Regions from separate parts of the Homo sapiens genome. Here all the other regions are linked to region 2. Evidence: promoter capture Hi-C in 16 types of primary human blood cells and fetal thymus (Javierre and others, 2016). All regions are on one chromosome and are shown on one strand. The core of a region is centred on a gene start or on the middle of the fragment in contact, and the rest is flanking DNA. Distances in the headings are between cores, read along the strand shown.

Evidence for each region. Contacts are between HindIII fragments. The CHiCAGO score rates a contact against its expected background, and 5 or more counts as called.
Region 1: a fragment that was not itself captured here is called in contact with the fragment with the promoter of NEB in region 2 in 1 of 17 cell types (M2 macrophages); the score reaches 5.1 in M2 macrophages.
Region 3: a fragment that was not itself captured here is called in contact with the fragment with the promoter of NEB in region 2 in 4 of 17 cell types (endothelial precursors, naive B cells, total B cells and 1 more); the score reaches 6.5 in endothelial precursors.
Region 4: a contact is called between a fragment that was not itself captured here and the fragment with the promoter of NEB in region 2, in 1 of 17 cell types (total B cells). The highest score is 6.3, in total B cells.

The regions. Positions count from the first base shown.
Region 1 is chr2:151,537,745-151,540,673 of GRCh38, forward strand. NEB (nebulin) reads right to left here. Exons shown (of 182, transcript NM_001164508.2): 138 at 2,600-2,704; 139 at 396-500; 140 at 128-232. It overlaps LOC124906081 (a long non-coding RNA gene), which reads left to right. Exons shown (of 3, transcript XR_007087266.1): 2 at 74-2,929. Among named protein-coding and RNA genes, the nearest start is that of RIF1, 130 kb to the left of the region's middle. The HindIII fragment of the contact is 2,108 bases long and covers 626-2,733 here.
Region 2 is chr2:151,733,226-151,736,051 of GRCh38, forward strand. NEB (nebulin) reads right to left here and starts at 1,251. Exons shown (of 182, transcript NM_001164508.2): 1 at 1,173-1,251; 2 at 487-570. The HindIII fragment of the contact is 3,549 bases long and covers 636-2,826 here.
Region 3 is chr2:151,956,715-151,959,414 of GRCh38, forward strand. All of the region lies in intron 2 of CACNB4 (calcium voltage-gated channel auxiliary subunit beta 4), which reads right to left. Among named protein-coding and RNA genes, the nearest start is that of ARL5A, 130 kb to the left of the region's middle. The HindIII fragment of the contact is 169 bases long and covers 1,362-1,530 here.
Region 4 is chr2:151,866,605-151,869,410 of GRCh38, forward strand. It overlaps CACNB4 (calcium voltage-gated channel auxiliary subunit beta 4), which reads right to left. Exons shown (of 14, transcript NM_000726.5): 9 at 2,573-2,631. Among named protein-coding and RNA genes, the nearest start is that of ARL5A, 40 kb to the left of the region's middle. The HindIII fragment of the contact is 169 bases long and covers 1,319-1,487 here.

The DNA of each region.
Region 1 (2,929 bases), core at 430-2,929, 200 kb before region 2:
TTTAAACATCCACACACAAAATCTAAAATCTAGCCAAGAGTTTCTTCAGTTTTTATGCCATGTATGATTTCAGAGCTTATATGGGAATATGAATTTATATGTGAAAATAGAAGATGTCAACACTCACATCACTGACTGTGTCAGTGACTGCTCGGTGGTGGAAATGCTCTGGACGATCAGGAATGGACCTCCAGATACCCAACTGGCTCATGTAGTTCTCCTTGTATTTTATCTGTTATAAAAAACACAAAGACAGCTGTAAGTCTTACCCAAAGTTAATGTAAATATGGCTTCTTTCTGGAGAATTTCAGAAGAGGGAGGTTGCTAAAAAATATATGTATATGTATATGGTGAGTTGTAGAGCCCAACACAAGTAGAAATATTTAGGGACATACTTTACTGATGTCATCTGTGACTTTGCGATGATAGACAATGTCTAGGGCATCTTTCACCGTGTGGTATTTCCCTTTGGTCTTTTGAAATGTTTCTTTGTAGCGTAGCTAGAAAGAGAAAAAACACATGAATTACAAAAAAACTACCAAGTTAAATAATTGAGCTCTTTTAAGCATGAACTCTCTTGTCTTCTCTCTGGTTTTCCCATGAATACATTTAGGAAAAATTTAAAAGCTTATTTCAGACCCTAGAAGAGAAAAAGAACACTAGGGAAAACTAATGAAATCCAAAGCAACTATGGAGTTTAACCGATCATAATGTATCAATCTTGGTTCACTGATCATGGCAAATCTACGATGGTGATACAGGTGTTAGCAACAGGAGGATATGGGTGTTCCCCTGGGTGTGGGGCATGTGATAACTCTGTACAATTTCGGTAAATCTAAGACTACTTAAAATAGAAAGTTTATTTAAATATAAAACATAAACCAAAAGTTCATTTGAGAGAAAAAAAAAACCCAAACAAACAACATTGTTGAGCCCAAGATATGCTAATGTACATGGAAAAGGGAAAAAGGTTTAGCTTCTAACTCCTAGTATTAAAATGCCTTCTTCACTAAGCAGTCTTAAAACTTCATTTCATTATAATCTTTATCTTTGTGATATTTCAAGAGAAAACAGCTCTGATTCTAACCTGAGAATATCATAGATGATTCATCTAATCTACACAAGATGGGTGCTTCTCTGCACAACCTATTTTCAACGTCAAACAGTTCTTTTCTTTTGGGGTTAACTGAGCAAACACACAGTGAAAGATGTCTTTTCTTTGACTTTGTAATTTTGTTTTTTAGATGGATCATAAGATTGCTTAGATCTACTTGTGGGGCTAGCCATGGTTAATACTGAATTAAATGCCAGATACTACCCTTGTTACATTAGACTATTGTAAAGATTAGAGTTATCAGAATTGCTACTGATAAAGCCCTAGGGATGGTGCTGTCCAGTGGGGCATGATGAATCCCAGGGCCAATTTCAATGTGTGGCCACCGCTGTAAGATATTAATTCAGCTTGGTTCAAATAAATATTCAACAGTAACTTTGAAGTGATAATGATGAAGGATGTCACAAGAAGACTAAAAATATCCTAGAAGGTAGATTTTGAGGGGAGTATATGATTTTTTCCCAGCTTACATTTTAAGCACTAACTGGCATTGCCTTTTTCTAACTAGTAGGCTCTTCTCTTCTCCAAATAAAAATTCCTAACAAAATTATGGAACTGAGATATTGTTCACATTTGCTGTGCCTTCTCTTTTCTGCCTCGGGCTTACTGCAATTACCTTAAGATGCCTTGAAATCCTAGAGCTATGTTGCTAAGTTGAGGGGGTCATGAAGTTGGCTTGATTTTTGGCTCAGTTTAAGTCCCAACATGTCTAGTCCTCTAGGGGTGTGGCTCTGGTAATGGGTACAGTGAATTCCTGGTTGGACCCTGAGACACAAAACCCGTAAGGATTGGCTATTTACCTTGGATTCACTACTTCACATCTTCATTAACAGATTATTAACAGATTATTACCATTAAAAGGCAGCCTTGCCCTCGATTGTGTGATATGGAAAATGAACATCTGTCCCCCCTAATTTTAACCACTGTGTCATGCATCATTCACATGATCTATATGCAATTAAGAGAAAAAAGGGAACAAACATTTTCTGAGTAACTAGGAGCCCAGCAGCATGCTAGACACTTATACATTATCTTGTTTGGTTTTATTTAATTATCACAATTCTCATTATCATTCCACATATATGAAAAGAGACTCGGAAAAATTAGACAGATGATATAGAGTCATACAGCAGGCAAGTAACAGCATCAGGATTTGAATCCATGTCTGGCTGACTGCAAGACCATAATTTTATGGATAAGTAAATTAACTGTCAAGTATCCCCAGAAAATGCTGCTGAAGAATTATAAGAAAGGGTCATATTTTTATTCAGGAGAGAATTGAGAAGAATAGGCTTCTGGTATCTCTCAGCTATTTTGCCTGACTAGTATTGTTTGGGCATTTTTTTTTCTCTTTAAAAAAATGTGTGTTTTTTTCCTAGGCCATGGTTTAGAACTATGGATATGGCTGAAATATGTTATGTTTCTTAGGTACTTCAACCTCAGCTCTCCCCATCACAACAGAAGAAAAAAGGAAGGGATGCATACATCACTGGCATTCCAGTAAGCCCTCTTGGCTCTGATGAGGATTGGCGTATCTGGAACCGGAGTGTACTTGTCTTTCATCTTTTCATATTGAATCTTGTACTTTTTCTGAGAAATAAATGCAGAAGAGAGAGACAAGCTTAAGTGTCTTCCCAATTTCCAACCAAGCCACCTACAGGTCTTGTGGAGGGGCACAATGTGTTACACACTTTAAGAGAATAGCTCTGCCTTTTGTGTTTTGATGATGCTGAGCACCATTTATAGTAATGAGCTCTCTGATCAGAGGTAGCAGGGGAAGGTTTTAACAAAGTATTTTTCTTTTTACCCAGTGCC
Region 2 (2,826 bases), core at 1-2,500:
TTCCCAGCACAGAAATTATCTTATGACATTATAAAAATAGAATTTGAAGCTAAACTATTGTACAAATTCATATATTGTTGCAGGCTAAAGGAGAGAAGACATTTAAAATACAAGTATAAACAGCAGAAGCTTCAAATTTCTTTCTCTTTATTCCTTCAGTGTTGGGAATTGCTACTTCTACATAATCAGTTTAGTTAAAATTGTAAAACGAAATTGAGGTAAGGAAGTGAGAGAGTTTGGACTCAGGGAACAGAGAATTTAAACTTCCAAACACTTAGAGAAAAGACATTTTCCAGCAAAAATTTTAGTGAAAGGTCAGCTTGGGTTTCAGAAGAAGCTGAAATTTATCCCCCAGCACCAAAATTCTAAGAGGGCTGACTTAGTTTTCCATACTGCCCTGATCCACTGTTTGCAATATATCTTAGGCTTCAAATTGGAACCCATAAAAATACATCTGTCAATAAATTTTAAAAGAAAAAAAGAAACCTCAAGGCAATGGGGTTATTTTCTTCCCGAACACCATTGGCTTATACAGACTTTTTCTTTCGTTTCTGTAGCTCTCGTTCAAACCTGAAAAATAACAAAGTTGTAAAGCATTGATTGAGGTACATATAGGATTGTCAGTCCTTAGCCTAAGCTTCTAATGCAGAAAACAGCGAAAGGATCTCTCAAGGCCTCTACAGTTTGACGCCAGAGAGTAAGACTCTTGATATGAAGTGGATGATGAGTTGGAACAGCTGTCCCTTCATCCAAAGATGTTTGCCATGTAAACCAATACCCTGCAGTGGCTGGTTTTGTTAAGCTAGCGAAACTGCCACTCCTCAGGCAAATGAAGCCCAGTAGAACAGGATAAATATAGGAACGTAGAGCAGCGTATCTTCTTTTTCACACTAATATATTTAGAGAAAAATATCAAAGGCAAAAAAATGTTAGACAAGAGAGCCAATTCAGTCAAGCAATAAATTGGTTAGCAAAGGACTTGACTCTAATCACACACGGTACATAGCAGATATTAGTAGGGCCTTAGTAGGGCAATGGGGTTAAACTCTCCTAGCCATATTTCTACCACTAATTTCCTCAGTTATGGCCCAAACCTTTGAAAAATACTTCGAGGGAAGTTGTGGAGCATCTCCTGAAAGAGTATTACAGAAAAAGTCATAAACTGGCCTTACCTTCAATCTACCAAATAAATTTCCTCAGCAGCAAAGCCTCTCCCAACTCTCCCCTCCTGAGAACCCCAGGCAAAAGCCAGCGTGATGCCTGGGCTCCGAATTATCATGTGGCAAGAGCAACCAATCAGATCTTGAGTTGCTCAAATTTCAGAAGCTAAATTTACCAAGTGATCTTCTGAAAACCACCTGTTCATCAATTCCACTAAAGGATAAAGGGTAACAAATTGCTTGCTTAGAACAATTCAAATGGAATCAAATTTTACCTAACTTCCAGCCTGTGCAGTTCAATTTTAGGTTGAATTTCCCATTTACTGAGGCCCCATTCAATGTCATATTCATGCAAAAGAATTTAGTAGAAAATAAGCATGACTTTGAGAGGCTTTAACCCTTCCGTGACTGCTTTCTTCATGTCATTTGTCCAGTCATGGTGGTAAATGTACTCACTCTGGTAAGGTTCACCAGGTGAGCTACAGGTAAGTTACTGGTGCTAGTGTGAAAGAAACTGAGGAATAAGACCCAGTAAACATCAAGTTGACAAAAGCAATTTTTAAAAATGTGATGAGTGAAGTTAAAGGTGAAAATATTTGACAATGGCACTAAATAAGATATCCACAGGGTGTAATTAGAAAGATTAGACCCCATCATTTTTCTGTTACTAAACCAAGAGGGTATACCAAAATCCTATTTAGCACCTTCTCCCTCCTTAGATAAGGCAAGCTGCTAGGAATACAGAACCTCTCTCATATGTAACCGAGTTAGTGATTTTTCTATTAACTCAGATGACTCCTGGCTCCCAGAAGCAACGTGTGAATGCGGACACAAACAGGCTCAATTTCTGAACAGCAAGAGCAGATAACATGGAAATCAGTAACTTATCAGGAGAAAATAATGCCCTATTTGGCAAATCCGAACGTAAGACATTTCCTTCATAAAAATTATCTAACCATTTTCTTAAAACTTGCCTGATGTCTTTCTTGCACTTTCTTTGCTCCTGAAGTATTTTTTCTAATTTAAAATCTAATTCTATCTGTCTGTCTGTCTGTCCTTACACACAGCGACAGAAATCACAGGCTCTTATGTGACAGAGAACTGCTCTTTCTCTGGGTTGCTCCTGTATTCAGGCAAAACCCTGTGAGTCACCTATATCTTGATATGGATTTGAGATTAAACATATTGTAATATTTTTTCTTTTTTAAGTTAAACATTAGAAAGTAATCTCGCTGGGCGTGGTGGCTCACGCCTGTAATCCCAACACTTTGGGAGGCCGAGGCGGGCAGATTGTCTGAGGCCAGGAGTTTGAGAAAGTAATCTCATATTTCAAATACATGTACCTTTTCCCCCTCCATGATTCACATGGTAGTAAATAAAATCTAACAGAATTTTATCATCTTAACTGATTATACCTGTTCATCTTGTATGTTCTCACAGGTCTTATGACCAAAGGATATTTATGTAATATGAGATCACTCACTTGGTAGCTGCAAACTAGAATTGTGACTTACTAGTCATTACATGCTTTAAAATGTGTTGTTGAATTAAAAAATAATACAGGCCCATACTTTAAAAACATAGAGTACAAAATTATATAAAGTAAAAAATGAGCATTGACCTTCTTAGTCATTTTTAAGTTTCAGATATTTTCAATATAGATATT
Region 3 (2,700 bases), core at 196-2,695, 220 kb after region 2:
CAAACTATCAAGTGTTTACTCTAGGGAATAGGGTCTAGGATTGTAGGCGAGGAGGGAGACTAACACTACCACCAATTATTTTTACAATCAATATAGCTGAGTGTCTCATCATATTCTGGCTCTTTTAAGAATACAGACCTTTTAATTTCCAGCCGGGCACAGTGGCTCATGCCTGTAATCCTAGCACTGTGGGAGACCAAGGCGGTGGATCACCTGAGGTCAGGAGTTCAAGACCAGCCTGACCAACAAGGCGAAACCCAGTCTCTATTAAAAATACAAAAATTAGCCGTTAGCTGGGCGTGGTGATGCATGCTTGTAATCCCAGCTACTTGGGAGGCTGAGGCAGGAGAATCACTTGAACCTGGGAAATGGAGGTTGCAGTGAGCCGAGATCGTGCCACTGCACTCCAGCCTGGGCAACAGAGTCAGACTCCATCTCAAAAAAAAGAAAGAATATAGGCCTTTTAATTTCCTAAACCTGCTAACCCCCAATTTTAAATTCACTTTGATTTTTTCAAAGAAAAAAAAAGTAGAGTGGCTGGGCGTGTGTGTGTGTGTGTGTGTGTGTGTGTGTGTGTGTGTGTGTGTCCCTTGGGAATCCCTGATAAAATATATTGTGTTCAATCATTTCTGACCATTCCCTAGATTCCTCTTGATTCCTGGAGGAATTAAAGTTATTGAATTTCAATTCATTCCAACAACCATTTATTGAGTGCCCATCTTGAGGCAAGCAAGGGTAGGGTAAGGATAGGGAGATGAATAAACCAATTACATTTTATTTAAAGAAAGACATTCATACTTCAAAGTGCTTACCACCCCAAATAAGTGGACAAGAAGCTAAAAGAACAGGGAAACTAAGTGCTGTGTGCACTGTCACAAACTCTCGAGCTGACCAAGACAATAATTTGACCCAGTATTTCTCAAAGAATTTACATGAAAGTGATTTGGGGAGCGTTTGCCAAAAATATGAATCCTAAGCCTTACTCCAAACTAACTGAATCAAAGTCTCCTAAGAGGGAGGCCCCAGAAATATATATACTGTATCTATTTAACGTTAACTTCACTCTGTCCCACAAAATCCTTCCAGTCTACAACACTGAGATGGTTTGCAGTGATTATGAGGCCTGGTGTAAATAACTAAACCAGCATTTCCCTAATTGTATTCTGTAGTATACTAGTTATTCAAGTACTTAATAGGTATTCTTTAGGGAAAAAAATGGATTCTGAGATCAAGTAGGTTTGGAATATCTTGGGGTTAAATAAAATTTAATTGGTTTATTTATTGTGGAATGCTAACAGATATTAGTGGGCTACTGGGTGCTGTGAATCTTTTGAGAAAGGGACGGAGTATGGTGATTATCAAGCTTATTTGACTAGGGACCTGTTTTTTTCACATGTATCAACAGGCGCATAAATTAATGGCTAGAAACTCATCTACCACATATAAGAAGTATGAGAGACTCTGGAAAATGTTACAATCTACTTCTAAATAGAAAAAGAAATATTTAATGTAAAAGGATAATATATGGCAAGCTTCCTCTATAGTTTCCAAACATGGCATAATAGGGTATATGAGGATAGGTACAGGCCCGGAACAGATAGAGCCATAACCGATTATTTGGCAGCAAGTTCCTGGTAACCGGGAGTCCCAGCTGTCTAGAACGAAACTATTTCATGATCTTGGGATGAAGTCAGTAACTTTCTTAGCCAGAAACCAATGGCTAAAGGGTTGAGGCCTTCAATCCGGGACCTGGCTTCTAACCTGAGATCCCCAGGGTCAGTGGAAAAGATATCAGAAGAAATGGCCTAGTTTTCCAATCTCAGTGGCATCACTGTCCAACCGGTCAGTCACCTAAGCCGAAAGTGGGAGTTCCTCTTCCTTCATAAGCTAATTAGCCATTAAACCTGCTGCATTTATGACTTAAATATTTTTTCAGTTCACCTCCTCCTCTCCATCCCCACTACTGCTGCCCTAGTTCAGGCTTCCATCAGCTCACACCTGTACTATTTCCACAGCTTTTTATTTGGACTCCCTGCCTGAATTCTTCCTCTCCTCAAATCCATCTTCTACCCTGACCAATGCACAGCTGATCAAACCACTTTCCAGTTTAAAAATCTGTGAACGGCTCCCAATTACCTACTGCAAATAATTTCTCTCACAGTATGTTCTGCGAAACATCAATACAGTATGTGATCACAGAAAAAGGGCTCCTTTCAAATGGGAGGCTAGGTATTTTTAAATGTAGGTACAAAGATAACAACTACCTATCAGTGTCTGATCTGTTCCCAGTATAGCAGACAGGTCCAATAATTCCTTGGAGTCTAAGGACCTCGAGGAAGGCCCAATCAGTAATCTGGGAAATGCTTCCAAAGTCTATCAACATCCTTGATTAGAGAATCTCAGAAGTCATTTAACACAAATGCTGATAGGATAATGGACACTTTTTATACTTCTAAAGAAATGATATAGTTTATAGCCAGAGCCTGCTGAATGTCCTCATTTTCTGCCGGAAGTCAATCTGGAACTTCAAAACTATACATCTTCCATTAAATACATGGAGGTGAGGCTTTGGGTTCACAGTATCTTTGCAAGCTCTAAATTAGGAACTGGAAATTCAAATACCCTAAGAATCAGATGAATCACAGCTGACAAAATTCTGGCTGAGTTTCCAGAACAAGGTGTCCCATGCGTACCCTTCCC
Region 4 (2,806 bases), core at 153-2,652, 130 kb after region 2:
GACGCTACCAGCGAATTTCTTTCTTATCAAAGTCTCCACATACACTCAACCAAGGAACTCCTTATTGTTCATTCTGCTGCCTGGCCTCTTAATATTTGAAATCAAGTCCATTCTCTCACCCCTCACCCCTTTAATATCTACCTATCTTTCTCCTGCTGGAGAAATATATCAGATTTCTCCAGGGCTAAGTCTCTCTCTTCAGCTATTACTTTTGCTACTGCTGGGCTCTTCCTCCAGACCCTCTGCCATGTCATCAGACCCCATGAATACTTGAGATTGAAATTTGCATTCAATTTCTATTAAAACCAACTTCAGTAGTATGTGTACAGTAATGGATGCGACAATTCTACTTGATTCGAGACAAATCTCTGCTGTTACAATTAAATAAATTCCCTTTTTCTGGGCCTCAGGATTGAGGAAGAACATCAGATTCTTCATTCTTGAGGGCAAACCTTTAACAGCACTGTTGCGTATAAGTATGTTATAGACCAAAATAATCTAACACTGTCTTATGGGATGGGATTTGTTCAGATAGGGCTGTTATGGGGCCAGTGGATTCGGCACTGCTCAGAACTGCCTTAGGTAACAGCTCCACAGGTTGAAACCATGTGACTCCATACATATCTGAAGGAACTATGCACGTGCGACCAAGGCATGCTGGCTGCCTTCAATCCACAGGGACCTGCATGAGGGTTAGGGTTAAGGCCAGAGCATCAGACAGCAAGACCAAGACCAGCCCTATTAAGTTACAAAGTCAGAGTTCAGCTATTTTTTTGCAATGCTTTTTTAGAAAGTGTAATCCCAATAACCAAAAGTTTCAAACAGAAGCAGGTTGTCTATCTGATTGTGGTTATTGGAGAAATGATGAGTCTAAAAGACATTTTATGTATCCTTCCAACTCCAATGCTCTAGGATTCAGGGCTTTTAACTTATTTTCTTTGAAGCTACTTCATTATCTGCCTATTTCTTTTTTAAAGAGAGTGAAATGGAACAAATACATCTTTCTTATTAAGCCTTTGTCCAGTAGATGAATGTGACGAAGGCTATTATTGATTCAACAAATTCTATCTCCTCTTCCTCCTGGACTGCAAGAGTGCCTCCGCTGCAATTAAGTATGACCACATAACCAAGTTCTAACCAGTGAAATGTCAGTTGCGCTACCTCCAGGCCGGGCAAGCTGACTAGAGACATCGTACCTGGGCTAAGGGCCCCAAATGACAGAGGGAACAAACTTTCTGCCCAATTCTCCCCTCCCCCAACTCTATCCTCCCTCCCAGCCAAGGAACACCTGCTTCAGACTGTTAAGTGAGCAATAATAAGCTTCCATTGTGTTTGAATCACTACACATTTTGGGGTCTATTTATTAAGGCAGCCTGACCTATATACTAATGTACCTAGAAGCATTCTTATTTCTTAAACTAAAATCTGTTTACTAACTTTCTATATTGTTCCAGAAACTAATGAATATTTTACCCAATTATCCAGAAAGCTTTTATTTTAACAAATGCATACAATTTATATTTAAAGCAATACCATGCTTGTTTTTATTCTTAATATACCAATTTATTAAAATCTATCTGAAGTTTTTTTACATTTTAAAATTATTTTGTGCATTTAGTGGATTCTCATAATTTAGCAAAGAGAAAGTGAATGGCTTAATTACTGCCTTCAAAAATAAAGAATGTGATGTTTTTCTTCAATCCTACAGTAATAAACTGGATGCATTTGCCCATACTTTTTGATGCACCCCATTTAAATTTCCTACATTTCTGATAAATCTCAGGTTTTTTCATGTGGTTATTTTTACATGGACTGCATTCAGCACTGTGAAAGAGCTTAATATTTAGAATTGAGTCAATACAGGCTTTTTACCATTTCTCTGCAAAACAGAGAAACTTTCTTTAGAATTTTTCACAAAACTTAAATGATAAAATTATTTAATGGCTAATGCCTGAGCCATATTGTTGATGGATCATAGTAAAATACATTAAAAAAAGATCAATAAAATAACAAGGACATTTCTAATAAAAACAACCCACAACTATAATAAATATCCAAATAAGTACTATTCCCTACAAAATGATCACTTTGGGAGGCTTATGATTAAAATAATTCTCACTCTCTTCTTTTGAGGAAATTCAGTACTTGACATTTATGCTTTCATATGACACACACACACACACACACACACACACACACATACACAATTCCCAAATACTGCCTAGTTTGACCAGCAAGCCACTATACTCATGAGAAATATTATATATTTTAATTAATATTTTTTCATAAAAAACATTTTGGTATGAAATTATTAATAACTGAGAAAATAAAGATATATACATTTAAATAAAACAAATGGCTTATTTTTCTTCTCATGGTCCTTTCTTCACTGGGGACTCAATGTTATACTTCATATTTTCAGAGTTCTTTTATTATATTCTTCCCAAGAATACTGAGTTAACTTTTAACTAGAGAACTTCTGAAATCTCTGGAAACATAGATCTACAATTCAATTTATCACACAAGTTTGGTTAAAGGAAAATAAAAATACAAAAACATCTATATTTCTCACCTCCCATCAAACCTGTGCTTCAGGAAATCAAAGAGGGCTTTCTGCATCATGTCTGTTACCTTTGCAGAGGTGAGAAAAAAAGAATGAGGCAAACACATGCAGAGAGAGAGAGAGAAGTCAAAAGGGAGAGAGGAGGGAGGGAAGGGTACTATGAGCCAAGACCTTATTGTAGCCATTCGTCTCCTAGGGGGAGGTTACCATGGAAGGTGTTTTTCATGCTTAACCATGTGCAAT